5 separate regions of the Homo sapiens genome follow, and all the other regions are linked to region 2. Evidence: promoter capture Hi-C in 16 types of primary human blood cells and fetal thymus (Javierre and others, 2016). All regions are on one chromosome and are shown on one strand. Each heading gives the region's core, a stretch centred on a gene start or on the middle of the fragment in contact. The rest is flanking DNA. Distances are from core to core; before and after follow the strand shown.

Region 1 (2,700 bases), core at 99-2,598, 560 kb after region 2:
AATTCCAAGTTGTTTCTGCTTCTTTGCTCTTTTCTCCTTATTTTGATGCTGTCTTCCTTTGGTTCCATGACAGGCTCTCTTCTTTTCTTCCTTTCCCTATTCTTAGAACTGAAGAGACTCAAGGAAATGCTACAACGGAATCAAAACAATTTTATTTTATTTTTTGAGACGGAGTCTCCCTCTGTCGCCCAGGCTGGAGTGCAGTGGCGCGATCTCCGCTCACCGCAAGCTCCGCCTCCCGGGTTCACACCATTCTCCTGCCTCAGCCTCCGCAGGCGCCCGCCACCACGCCCTGCTAATTTTTTGTATTTTTTTTAGTAGAGACGGGGTTTCACCGTGTTAGCCAGGATGGTCTCCATCTCCTGACCTCGTGATCCGCCCGCCTTGGCCGGCCTTCCAAAGTGCTGGGATTACAGGCGTGAGCCACTGCGCCCGGCCTCAAAGCAATTTTTACCCCATCTCTCCTCCCTGTGGTTGGTTCCACTTCTCTTCCTTCTTTAGCAAGAGTCATTTCTTCCCCTTTGAGTCCTGCTGCACTTCCTTCTTTTTCTCACTTCCATGTCACTCAGAGGTTAAGGCAGTTGTAGAGCAAAACAACCAGCTGACAAGCAATAGATGTTATGCAATTCACCATTTATTCTGTGCAACATTAATTAGCTGGTTGTCCTGATTTTCACAGCCTGTGCCCACCCCATACATTGTTGACTTCATTACTTCTAATAAGAATTAATCTTTTTTTCCATTTGAATCCCACAGAATGTGGTTTGAGTCTCTAATCTGATTATTACAGTCTGCCCTTCCTCAGGGTTATTTTTGTATATGCTCCCTCACTAAATCACAACATCCTTATAAACAGTGATGTGCACATAATAGATACTCAATAATTGTTAACTCACTGATGAGTCCTAAATTTGACTAACTTGCCATTGGTTTTGGTAACATTTGGGTAAATCTTGATTCAGCAATTGGCACTCAGACTTTTGCTCATATCTAGAAAAAAAGGAACATATATAAATAGAAAAAAATATTATCTGTTGAAGACCTTTCTATTTTTCACCCTCCATATTAAGATTGTAGTACTATTGTTTGTTTACAATTCATACCACACCTGCTTTCTAAGAGGCTTTAAGTAGACGTATTAGGCAATATATTCACTTATTCATTAATTCATTCATTCACTGATTTACTCAATAGTCACTTAATGAGTCCCTATCATAGGCTAGGGATAGGATAGAAAGTCTAATAAAAGGTTGGGCATGGTGGCTCATGCCTGCAGTACCAGCACTTTGGGAGGCTAAGGCTGGCAGATGGCCTGAGTTCAGGAATGCTAGACCAGACTGGGCAACATGGCGAAACCCTGTCTCTACTGAAAATACAAAGTGTGGTGGCACCCACCTTTAATCCCAGCTACTTGGGAGGCTGAGGCATAAGAATCACTTGAACCCGGGAGGCAGAGATTGCAGTGAGCCAAGCTGGCACCACTGCACTCCAGCCTGGGTGACAGAGTGACACTCTGTTTAAAAAAAAAAAAAAAGTCGAATAAAATGTGGTAACCTCTTTCAAAATCTGGGAGCAGGGGGGAGACACATAAGTAAAGCAATTGCTACTGTGCCATAAACACTGTAGCCTAAAGGAGAAGCATCTAAGTGAGATTGGAACTTCTTGGGAGATGCGACCCCTGAAACTAGCTTTGAGGTTAAGAGGAGGAGATAGCTGGAGAATTGGGGATGGTGGAGCAAGGGTTTTTATGAGAAGGAAATGTGCCATGTGCAAAAACTGAGATGGGAAATAAAATTACATGCTCCAGAAACTGCTCAAGAAATTCAATAGGACAGATCCATAACATCCTAGTTGAGGAATGGCAGGAGACAAGCTAGTGAAATGAACATGTGTCAGATCTAAAAGCATCTTGTGTCTTAAAGTAAGGAATAGTAACATCAAAGCTATGGAACACATCGAAACTCCTCTGCCAGGCAAGTGGGGTCTCAGATGCCATTCTGGGATTATACTTACAGAAGCTGGGTGTGGTTATGGGTAGGGTAAGACACTCCCCATAATATGCATGGAATAGAACTGAGAGGATCTGAAAGTGAGGGCCCAGGGGACAAAGCTAGGATTAATTCAAAGCTGACAGGAAACCAGAAATAATTAATATGAAACATGACCAGAAAGTACTAAGACATAGCAAAGAGGAAAAAATGCAGGGTCAGAGGCACAGCTTAGCATCTTTTTGTTGTTGCTGTTGTTCAGACAGAGTGTTCAGTCTGCTGCCCAGGCTGAAGTGCAGTGGCGCAATTTCAGCTCACTGCAACCTTCACCTCTTGGGTTCAAGAAATTCTCATGCCTCAGCCTCCCGAGTAGCTGGGACTACAGGTGTGCACCACCACACCCAGCTAATTTTTTGTATTTTTAGTAGAGATGAGGTTTCACCATGTTGGCCAGGCTGGTCTCAAACTCTTAGCCCCAGGTGATCTACCTTCTTCAGCATCCCAAAGTGCTGGGATTACAGGCATGAACCACCACACCCAGCCACAGCTCAGTATTTTAAAGCCACCTTTTCCCTTTTTGAGCTCCTTGAGCCAGTGTCTGGATGGTAAAGGAATATTTTGAACTGATTTGGACCTAAGGCTATCCAAGTATTTTAAGCAGAAGAGTGATAGGGCCTGTTGTTGCTCTTTTAACTCTAGACACACAGCATCT
Region 2 (2,700 bases), core at 188-2,687:
GCGTGGTGGCAGGAGCCTGTAGTCCCAGCTACTTGGGAGGCTGAGGCAGGAGAATGCTGTGAACCCAGGAGGCGGGGCTTGCAGTGAGCCGAAATCACACCACTACACTCCAGCCTGGGTGACAGAACGAGACTCAGTCTCAAAAACAAAAAAAAAAATCAGCTGATCAGCTGGGCGTGGTGGCACACGCCTGTAATCCCAGCTACTCTGGAGGCTGAAGCAGGAGAATCGCTTGAACCTGGAAGGCAGAAGTTGCAATGAGCTGAGATCAGGCCATTGCACTCCAGCCTGGCCGACGAGAGCAAAACTCTGTCTAAAAAATAAAAAATAAAAATAAAAAAAAGACTAGGAATTTTCCTTCTTGTACACCTTCGTGAAAATAAGTCTTTCTATTTGTGCAAGTTTAGAAACTGCAATTACAGACTTCTTGGCACTATGGAGCCTAATGGTCAAGCAACCCTGCAATGGAGAGACAGTATAAAAATTATCTGGACAATGCAACACTTTATCACTTGTTCAGAAATTTGAGAGGATGAGAATAATTAAGATTTCTGATAATGTGTTATGATCATGTATTTATTGCTACAGTTAGTTATATATTTTTTGGCACAATGTTTACCTGCTAATCTTAATGGAGTTAAGATAAAATTCAATTGTAGGCATTTTTCCCTTCTATTGGGTTAATTAGTCCAAGCGAACTGAGCAAAGGTTGCAGGGAGCCCCAGCATGGCTGAGGAAGACCTGGTGAGGCATCCACTGGCTGCTGGGAGGAGAGCATTAGAGGTACCTTCTGAACAGCACTGTCCAATAGAAATATAATGCAAGCCACATATATAATTCTAAATTTTCTAGTATTTATACTTAAAAAGCAAGAAGAAATAAGATGACTTTCACCCAACACTGCTTCCAAATAAGCAGTACTCTGGAGAACACGAGAAATCCTCAGAAAAATAAGCTGCAGCTCTGAGGTGCTGATTATGGTAGGGCAATCAATACAGATCAAAACATGGCACAGGGAGCTTAAGTTCCTAGGGAGAGTAGAAAATCGATAGAGCCAAGAAATAGCTCACCTTTGACTTATTTTTAACCTGAGTAGCTATCATATGCCAAGAGCTGTGCAGTTTTCATTTACCCCATGCCAAGAACGTAAGTAGGCTCTACTGACCAGGAAGTTAAGTAATATGCCCGAGGTACGTTTTCAATGGAAGAGGCTGACTGAGGGTCACCCAACTTATATCTCGAAATTTCACAATTTCTACAAGTTCTGTCCTGGGAGGCAAGAGTAGGTGAAACGAGCACACTCTACGCCAGGCAAACAAACCTCAACGCTTAGCCTCCCGGCACCTCCTAGGGCCGGAAGCTTCTCAGCCCAAAGCCGCTGCTGGCTGCAACCTCCGTCCCGCAGTCCAATTAGCAGCCGCGACCCGGCGCCCGCCCACGCCGCGTCACGAGTCAGCCAAAGATGGCTGCGCCCAGGTAATTTGAGCAAAGGCCACAGTGAACTCCGGCGTGGCTGAGGAAGGAGGAGGCACCCACAGGCTGCTGGGAGGAGAGCATAAGGTACTGGTATTCCGGGGGAGGGGGTGAAGTAAATGTCCCGGTGTCAGGAGAAGCACGACGCGGTGACACGCTAGCTACCAGCAGCGCTGCGCGTAAATGAGAGCAAGTAGAAGTGTAGTTAGCTCTTCCTGCTGTCTTTTCACTTTGCACTCTAGAAGGAAAGACCTTATATTTAAATTAACTCAGTAGAAAGGAGAAATGCCTGAGATTGAATTTAATCCCAGGTTTACTGTCAATTTACAAGGTGACCACGGCCAAATTTGATTTTCAGAGGTCCCACTTTACTTCTCTTTCAGATAGGCCCCACACTGCCTATCTCTCAGAGCTCTTCCAAGAATGACATGAGATAGGTAACACAAAAATCTTTCGAAATATTTGTAGTTTTTACAGGCGGCGTTGTCTTTGATAGATATTTGTTATTAATATCGGAGACAAAATGCCCACAGGGGCTGCCCAGTCAGCACTTATACTGAATTGAGTGACTTAATTGCCCTCAGTACAATATATACATACTAAATTTGATTATATATTTCACCACCCCATACACAAAATCATTCAGAGCTCCTGTACAGCAGAGATTGTGTCTTATCATCTTATCGTAGCCAAGGCCCTCAAAAATTTGACTACCAGAAACCTAGACATAAATTTCTAAGGCTGCTTTGTACTTATTAGGTTAGCTTTAAGTCTAGAGATATGGAATGTCAAGGTAATCAACATTTCCAAATGACCTCTTATCGATATAAAACAGGTAGCAATAAATATTTAAACGAGTGCCTGTAATGTTGTAGGAAATGAGAAAATCTGGTTTCATAAAAGCATGTTTTCCTTTGTTGTTATCCCTGAACTGTTTTTTTTTTTTTTTTTGTAGACCGAGTCTCGCTCTCACCCAGGCTGGAGTGCAGTGGCGAGATCTCGGCACACTGCAACCTCCACCTCCCAGGTTCAAGCGATTCTCCTGCCTCAGCCTCCCGAGTAGCTGGGATTACAGGCAGCTGCCGCCGTGCCTGGCTAATTTTTGTATTTTTAAAAGACAGGGAGTTTCACCATGTTGGCCAGGCTGGTCTCGAACTCCTGACCTCAGGTGATCCGTCTGCCTTGGCCTCCCAAGGTGCTGGGATTACAGGCGTGAGCCACTGCATC
Region 3 (2,700 bases), core at 37-2,536, 620 kb after region 2:
CTACTATAATTTTTTCTTTTAACTTTTTACATTTCCATTCTTCCTTCAGGCCATTTATTTCTCAGAAAATCCATTTTCCTGATTTTTCTACCAGAGACATACATAGGAATTATGTTGATTGTGTGCGATGGTTAGGCGATTTGATACTTTCTAAGGTATGGTAACTGCAGTTAAGCTGTACTTCCATCGTGTGTGTGTGTGTGTGTGTGTGTGTGTGTGTATGTGTGTGCGCATGTTGGAACTTGGCAGGGAGCACTTTATGTAGTTTATTAAATTGAATGGCAGCTGGGAAGTTGCCTTTTTTAAAGTCTCATATTTTGATATATTTAGAAACTTGTTTTAAGAATAAAACATGCCATTGAATTATAATTCTTTGTGCTCCAGTAAGATGAGTATAGTTTTATAAGGTGATAGTATTCTCTGATAGTCAGTATTGTTACAAGATAACCAGTAACTAAAGCCAACAGAATTGGCTTTTGTTTTTTTGTATCTCTGTGACTATTTTAGTAAAATTTTATTTATAAAAACAGGTGGCTGGAGTTGGCTTATGGGCTGTAGTTTGCCAACCCCTGCCCCTGTTGATGGATTTATACAGATGCTCCTCAACTTATGATGGGATTACATCGTGATAAACCCATCATAAATTGAAAACGCATTTAATACACATAACCTACTGAATATCAGCTTAGCCCAGCCTATCTTAAATGTGCTCAGAATTAGCCTACAGTTGGGCAAAATTATCTAACACAAAGCCTGTTTTATAATAAAGCATTGAATATCTCACATACTGCATACTGCTAGCCCAGGAAAAGATCAAAATTCAAAATTCCAAGTACTTCAAAATTGCAGCTGTTTTGTACCATTTTGGTAAAGTTGAAAAATTGTAAATCAGACCATTGTAAGTCAAGGCCATCTGGGTGTGTGTGTGTGTGTGTTTGTGTGTCTGTGTATTTTTTTGTAGCTGATAATTTAGAGAAGCTATTGGTGATGTTACATGAGCATTTAGGATTATCAAATTTGGTGAAATTGCTGTCCGGTTTCTTTTCTTGATGTGAATTTCAGGCCACTTCACATTTTCTTGGGCAGAGCCTGATTTACTTTTTTCTTGGCTTTATGTGTAAACTGTTTTTTTCTTTTTTCTTTAAACTTTTGACCTTCAAATAACTTGATTCATAGGATGTTTCAAAGATTGTGCAGAGAGGTCCCATATGATCTTTATCCAGAATCCAAAGTTTATATATTATATAACTGTAATACAATATCAAATCCAGAAAATTGACACTGGTACAATGTGTGTGTTTAGTTTTATGTCATTTTATCACGTGAATTTTGTCATTTCAAGAATGGTACAGTTTGGGACCTTTTAAGATTGTTTTTTTCCACTCAAACCCTTGAGATCCATCCAGGTTGTTGCCTGTATCAGTAGTTCTCCTTTTTTATTGCTGAGTAGTATTCCATGGTATGGATTACCATAGTTTATGTAACTATCTATGGTAGGAGGTTTTGGTCATTTCCAGTTCTGGGCTATTGCAAATAAAGCTGCTAATCAGCAGTTGTGTCCAGGTTTTTGTGTGGACTTAAGTTTTCATTTCTCTGGGTAAATGCCTAGGAGGGCAATTGCTGGGTTGTGGTTAAGTTTGTTTAGTTTTTTAAGAAACTGCCAAACTATTTTCCAGAGTGGCCGTGCCATTTTACATTCCCACCAGCAATGTATGAGAGATCCAGTGTCTCCGAATCTTCGCCAGCATTTGGTATTGTCATTATTTTTTATTTTAGCTGTTCTGATAGGTGTGTAGTGATATCTCATCGTGGTCTTAATTTGCATTTCCCTGATGGCTAGTGATGTTGAACATCTTTTTCATGTGCTTATTTACCATTCGTATATCCTTTTTGGTGATGTCTTTTCATATCTTTTGCTCATTTTCTAATTGGATTGGTTTTTTGTTGTGTTTTTTTTTTTTTTTTAACTGTTGAGTTTTGAGAGTTTGAATATATTCTAAATATGAATCCTGTATCAGATACATAGTTTGCAAATATTTTCTTTCAGTCTGTAGCTTGTCATTTCATCCTCTTTAATAGGGTCTTTCACAGAGCAAATGTTTGTAGTTTTTATTAAATCCAGTATATTGATTTTTTAAAATTATTTTATGGATTATGCTTTTGATGTTTTGCCTGAGAACTCCTTACCAAGCTATAGACCTTAAAGATTTTCTCCTGTGTTCTCTTGTAAAAGTTTTATACTGCTATGTTTTACATTAAATGTGTAATCCATTTTGAGTTGATTTCCTTATGAAGGTGCGAGGTTTAGGTGGAAGTTCATTTTTCTCTTATAGATACTCAGTTGTTCCATCAGCATTTGTTGGAAGACTATTCTTCCGCCATTGAATTGCTTTTGCACCTCTCTCAGAAATTGTTTGGCTGTACTTACGTGGGGCTGTTTTTGATTTTCCTGTTCTGTTTCATCTGTATATCTGTCCCTCCACCAGTACTACATACACAGTCCTCATTATTGTAGCTCTATAATTATTCTTGGAATCTGATAGATTTTTCCCGCTTTTATTTTTTTCATAATTGTTTTGAGCTATTCTAATTCCTTTGTCTTTCTGTGTGTAAATTTTAGAATAATCTTTTCTACATTTCTAAAAATCTTGCTGGGAGTTGTTTTGAGGAGAAGGAGTTTTTAACTGGATTTGTATTAAA
Region 4 (2,700 bases), core at 82-2,581, 570 kb after region 2:
TCATGACGAATTCTCTCCTGAGAATACCAGTATGTTATAGAAAGAACACTGACTAAGTGTCAGAAAACTCAGCTCAAGTCCCATTTGGTTTTTAATGAACTGAATGATCACTAACCTACTCTCTGGGCCTCAGCGTTTTCTCTAAAGAACCAAAGCAGTGGGTTATATGACCTCTGAAGTTTATTACCATGTTGACATTGTATGACCATCTCTCTATTCAAGCATAGTGGTAGGATGGCGCTCAGATTGCACCTGTCACAGAGACTGGCATACTATGTGTGCTAATAAGTGCCAGTTCCTCTTTTCTTCGCACATAATGGAAATATTCTGCAACATTCTCAATTTTAATAAGGAGAAAAGTTCATCTTTATCCATTGAGGATAACATGGTAAAAGAGAATTGTACTACGTATTTAATTTAATTTTATGGAAGAATTTTTCAGTGGTTAAGTCTATTTTTAATTCCAGGTCTTGCCATATGCTGTTTCAAGGGGAAGCTTCTATTCTACAACAAACTACTTTTTGAGTCAAATGAAGAACTGAAAAATAGTTAGGCTTAAACAAATTCTTAGTCAACCACATCATGGTCTGGAAAGACACAAAAATCATTTGGCAAAGATTGCTCTAAATACAGTGAGAAAGGAGAAAGGCAGCAGGTGATGCCAATCAAAAAGGAGAATGCACTTTGGGAGGCTGAGGCGGGTGGATCACAAGGTCAGGAGATCGAGACCATCCTGGCTAACACAGTGAAACCCTCTCTCTACTAAAAATACAAAAAATTAGCCAGGCGTAATGGCGGGCGCCTGTAGTCCCAGCTACTCCGGAGGCTGAGGCAGGAGAATGGTGTGAACCCGGGAGGCAGAGGTTGCAGTGAGCTGAGATGGCGCCACTGAACTCCAGCCTGGGCGACAGAGCTGGACTCCGTCTCAAAAAAAAAAAAAAAAAAAAGGAGAATGACTTTAAATAAGATATTAGGAGATTCTGGAGAATTAAACTAAAGTTTTTGGAACCTATGACAATTGCAGATGTTCAGATTAATATGTGTAGGAACAACTTTTGTATCCGTGATTTTAAAGGAATAAGGAGTTCTATTTGTGGGACTTTTCACATTTACTAAACTTTAGTTCTTTATTTTTCTAAAAACTGATTTAATTTCACTATTTTATCAGGATGTTTTCCTGACTTACTTAAAAGAAGTCTAAACTACCTGCCATTCCTGCAAAAACATGGTGTTCTTTCACTCGTCTGTGTTTTTGTGGGTGCTGTTTCCTTCTCCTGGAAGTCCTCCCTCCTATTCTACCCTCCAAAACCTATTTTAAATCTCTGTGAAGACATGCTGTACTCCAGTCAGCAAAGTAAGTTGCTCCACTGTGGTCCACCAGTCTTGGCTCATAGCTCTCTTATTTTCATAATCACTGAGGCCCTCACTGGGTGAACACCAGTTACACCCAGTTGGGCATCAGTGTAGGATTTGAGGAGGAAGCTGATTAGGACACCAGCACTCAATTATAAGAAGCTAGGAGCCTTTCTTTATTGAACATCTAATACTATTATCTGTTAAAAAACTTTATTTAATGTTTTCCTCTGATGCTGTTCTGAGTATATTCTGAGAGGCTCTTAATAGAAGTGAAATTGTGTGGGGGAGTGGGGGGGGGATCTACAAGAGGAGGGTGCTGAGATAGGAGGGTAAAGATAAGAAACTCCAGTCCCAGAAGTCTTTGCAAGATGCAAGATCTAAGTTTACCCATTCCCATATTCTCACTTAGTTGACCTTTTATGGTTCTTCAGATTTCAGCTTCCTCAGGAAAGTGTTTCATGATCTTTCTTTTGAGAACAATCACAACATCATAAACCTCTCATCCATAGTATTTAACATAGTTGTAAATGTATCTGTATATGTGATTTTTTGATGGGCATCTGTTTCCACTAGCAGACTCATGAAAATAGAGACTTATATCTGGTTTTGCTCACCATTATTCTCTAGGATAAAACCTGGTACATAGTACGATTTCAATATTAGCAGAGCAAATTAATATTTTTGCATAAAAGGCAGTAGGGTAAACCAAATTGAAACATGGATTTGAAGGAACTGCTTAAAGTAACTTATCAGTATTGCTAATCATCAACGACAGAATCCGACAGGTTTGAGAATTTTGTGAAACGGCATGAAAGCTTTTTCCCTCCTGACAACAAACATATGGTATCTTTTCCAACATCACTTCTTCAGCTCTCTGACATCAATTGACTGTCCAACAATTCAATTAATTTCTGACATTATCTACCTGGAGTTAGCATCAGATCCCATAATTCAAAGGGTTCAGTCCTACAAGACTGCCCCCACTTCAAATGCTGTTTGCAAGTTTTGGGCCACCAGTACTTCTGACTAACCAGCTGTAAATCAGGGTTCCTTTGACCCCCTCCTCATGTTTGACAATTTGCTAGAAAGCTCACACAACTTAAAAAGGCACTTTGCTTATGTTTACTGGTTTATTATAAAGGATACAAATGAACAGCCAGATGGAGAAGTATATAAGGTGAGATTCAGAAGGGAATGTGCAGGAGCATCTGTCCCCGTGGAGCTGGGGTGCACCACCCTCCCAGTACGTTGGGTGTTCACCATCCTGGAAGCTCCCTAAACCCCATTGTTTAGGGGGTTTTTGTGAAGGTTTCATTACATAGGCATGGTTGATTAAATCATTGG
Region 5 (2,700 bases), core at 186-2,685, 640 kb after region 2:
TATAGAAAGTCCCATGAAACAATATACTTACTAATATGATGCATTCTGAAATTTTCTATTTCTTTTTTTTTTTCTTTTTGTAATGCTGGTTGTAACTCACTAAATTGATTTCACAACCTGCCCATGGATCTCAGCCTGCAGTGTGAAACACAGTAACCTAGGGAAAATGAGTCTAGATGGCTTTTACCAAGGGTAGTGGAAGTGGGGCCCACATTGTGAGAAATACAACCATAAGTAAAAAGTGCTAAATGGCCTCTCTTTAACCAGAGACCACAGTCTGTAACTTCCCCTGCTTTCAGTGGTTACCTCTGGGTTTCCCCTGTTGTGATTTATAGAAAATGACTATCACTTTGGAATTGAGCTGGTGGATTTCTACAAAGATTCTTGGTATTTCATGGTTATTTTCTGATGTAGAGCAAGACTTCATGTGAATGAAAGCAGATTCATTTTGCCTTTCTTGCTTGGGTACCCCAGGCTGATGTGGAATAAAAAATTGTTGGGTGATTTCTCTTACATTTCTGCATAATGAGTGAGGGAAGTGTGTGTGTTTAATTCCGAAACCAATAAACTGGGTTGCCAGAAAATCATTGATCATAAGAAGTGTATGGCACTGAACTGACACCCTGTGCTATATGGGCCATTATTTTTCTTCATTGCAAAATCACTATTTTTTATTTATTTATTGTTTTTGAGACAGAGTTTTGCTCTTGTTGCCCAGGCTGGAGTGCAATGGCGCAATCTCAGCTCATGGCAACCTGTGCCTCCTGGGTTCAAGCGATGCTCCTGCCTCAGCGTCCTGAGTAGCTGGGATTACAGGCATGCGTCTCCATGCCTGAATTTTGTATTTTTAGTAGAGATGAGGTTTCTACATATGGGTCAGGCTGGTCTCGAACTCCCGACCTTGACCTCCCAAAGTGCTGGGATTACAGGCATGAGCCACCGCGCTCAGCCATGCAAAATCACTTTTTAAACTGTTAATATTTCATATAAGAAAGGCTTGGCTTATCTTACTGAATCTGGTTGCAAATTGTCTTAATAATCCCAGTTCTGAATAGCAACCTGCAGGGGATGGTGGCTCAGGCCTGTAATCCCAGCACTTTAGAAGGCTGATGCAGGAAGATCACTTGAGCCCAAGAGTTTGAGACCAGCCCTGGCAACATAGCGAGATTCCATCTCTACAAAAAACAACTAGCCAGGTGTGGTGGCACATGCCTGTAGTCTTAGCTGCTTGGAAGGCTGAGGCAGGAGGATCGCTTGAGCCTTGAGCCATGATCCCGCCACTGCACTCCAGCTCTGGTGACAGAGCGAGACCCTGACTCTAATGAAAAATAATAAAATGAATAACTTATGTAAGAGTTCTGCATTATTCCCCTTAATCCCTGAGTAAATCTGGCTGAAATACAGAGTTTGTGACCCTTGGGAAGTCAAAACTCTCTGTGAAGGACCCTTCAAAATACTTTTTTGCCTTTGCTCTAAAATGTTAGCTCCTAGTAGACAGGAGAGAATCATTTATTCATGTATTTAATTGGCCAGGTGTGCAAAGCACTGTATTAGTGATGGCCCTATATAGACCTTTATTATGCAGTGGTTCCCACATGTGAAAAGAGTGAATGTACCATAATCATTTAGGGAGTATTTTAATAATAAACTCTCAAAAGTTTTGCTAAACTGCAATTTTATATTGGCTGGGCACAACACAAAACAGCCCAAAGTAGATATAATTATATAAAGTTGATTTCAGCCCAGCCCAGCCCAACTTTCCACAGTCAACTTGAAATTTTCTCACTGTTACTAACTGGTGTCTTTCAAACCCATGTCCAAGGTTACGGGTGGGAGTGGTAGAGAATTGTCACTAGCTCTGCCGCCTATTGAATTGCTTCTGTGTCTAGGATTTAGCAGTTCCTGTCCCAGACTGGGGCCTGACTCAGCTTTCTGCCAGGACTCTTCTCGTCTGTGGCTGTGCTTTCTAGTCTTCTGGGCCATAATCAAGGCCAGTACATCCAAGACGCCAGCTGTGAACAGACTAGGATTTGATAGGGCCCCTCACTGTCTGATGCCTCTTTCTGGTGGCCTTGCCAGGTTTAGAACAGGCAGCCTGCTAGGCTGCCTTCCTGGTAGTAGAGGCTTTCCAGGTAGTCAGGCTGCTTTCTACATGCATGATGTTGGGCTCAGTTAATATTTGTAAAACAAATGTCCTCTGGAAAGGGCTCTGCCTTTCTGAGTTACTGCCTCTCTTCTACCTCCTTTAATGACCTGCTCATTTTAGCATCTCATTGAAATGCACACATCTTGTGGTTTCCTATGCTCTAAAATCAGTGCCAGACTAAGAGCTCTTCAAACAGGAGCCTTTCCCCCCTCCCCGTCCTTTTTTTTTTTTTTTGAGACAGAGTATCACTCTGTCGCCCAGGCTGGAGTGCAGTGGTACGATCTCCATTCACTGAAACCTCTGCCTCCTGGGTTCAAGAAGTTCTCCTGTTTCAGCCTCCCAAGTAGCTGGGACTACAGGTGCACACCACCACGCCCAGCTAATTTTTGTATTTTTAATAGAGTCGGGGTTTCACCATATTGGTCAGGCTGGTCTCGAACTCCTGATCTCAGGTGATCCACCCGCCTTGGCCTCCCAAAGTGCTTGGATTACATGCATGAGCCACCGCGCCTGGCCCTTTCCTTATTTTTTGAATGCCCGTTGCTTAACACACT

What was found. The method cuts DNA at HindIII sites, captures the fragments that hold promoters and counts their contacts. A CHiCAGO score of 5 or more calls a contact.
Region 1: a contact is called between a fragment that was not itself captured here and the fragment with the promoter of TMEM126A in region 2, in 5 of 17 cell types (non-activated CD4 T cells, naive CD4 T cells, total CD8 T cells and 2 more). The highest score is 10.8, in non-activated CD4 T cells.
Region 3: a fragment that was not itself captured here is called in contact with the fragment with the promoter of TMEM126A in region 2 in 6 of 17 cell types (naive CD4 T cells, total CD8 T cells, non-activated CD4 T cells and 3 more); the score reaches 13.0 in naive CD4 T cells.
Region 4: a contact is called between a fragment that was not itself captured here and the fragment with the promoter of TMEM126A in region 2, in 6 of 17 cell types (naive CD8 T cells, total CD4 T cells, activated CD4 T cells and 3 more). The highest score is 12.5, in naive CD8 T cells.
Region 5: a contact is called between a fragment that was not itself captured here and the fragment with the promoter of TMEM126A in region 2, in 6 of 17 cell types (total CD8 T cells, M0 macrophages, naive CD4 T cells and 3 more). The highest score is 9.2, in total CD8 T cells.

The regions. Positions count from the first base shown.
Region 1 is chr11:86,202,468-86,205,167 of GRCh38, forward strand. No RefSeq gene overlaps it. Among named protein-coding and RNA genes, the nearest start is that of LINC02695, 10 kb to the left of the region's middle. RefSeq lists enhancers at 1-243, 244-744. The HindIII fragment of the contact is 4,329 bases long and covers 1-2,700 here.
Region 2 is chr11:85,646,530-85,649,229 of GRCh38, forward strand. It overlaps TMEM126A (transmembrane protein 126A), which reads left to right and starts at 1,438. Exons shown (of 5, transcript NM_032273.4): 1 at 1,438-1,560. RefSeq lists enhancers at 1,199-1,248, 1,419-1,688. The HindIII fragment of the contact is 2,186 bases long and covers 1,359-2,700 here.
Region 3 is chr11:86,268,407-86,271,106 of GRCh38, forward strand. It overlaps EED (embryonic ectoderm development), which reads left to right. Exons shown (of 12, transcript NM_003797.5): 9 at 50-155. Among named protein-coding and RNA genes, the nearest start is that of MIR6755, 8.6 kb to the right of the region's middle. The HindIII fragment of the contact is 6,326 bases long and covers 1-2,700 here.
Region 4 is chr11:86,219,443-86,222,142 of GRCh38, forward strand. No RefSeq gene overlaps it. Among named protein-coding and RNA genes, the nearest start is that of EED, 24 kb to the right of the region's middle. The HindIII fragment of the contact is 1,675 bases long and covers 495-2,169 here.
Region 5 is chr11:86,287,032-86,289,731 of GRCh38, forward strand. It overlaps a transcript of EED not described here. Among named protein-coding and RNA genes, the nearest start is that of MIR6755, 10 kb to the left of the region's middle. The HindIII fragment of the contact is 5,987 bases long and covers 1-2,700 here.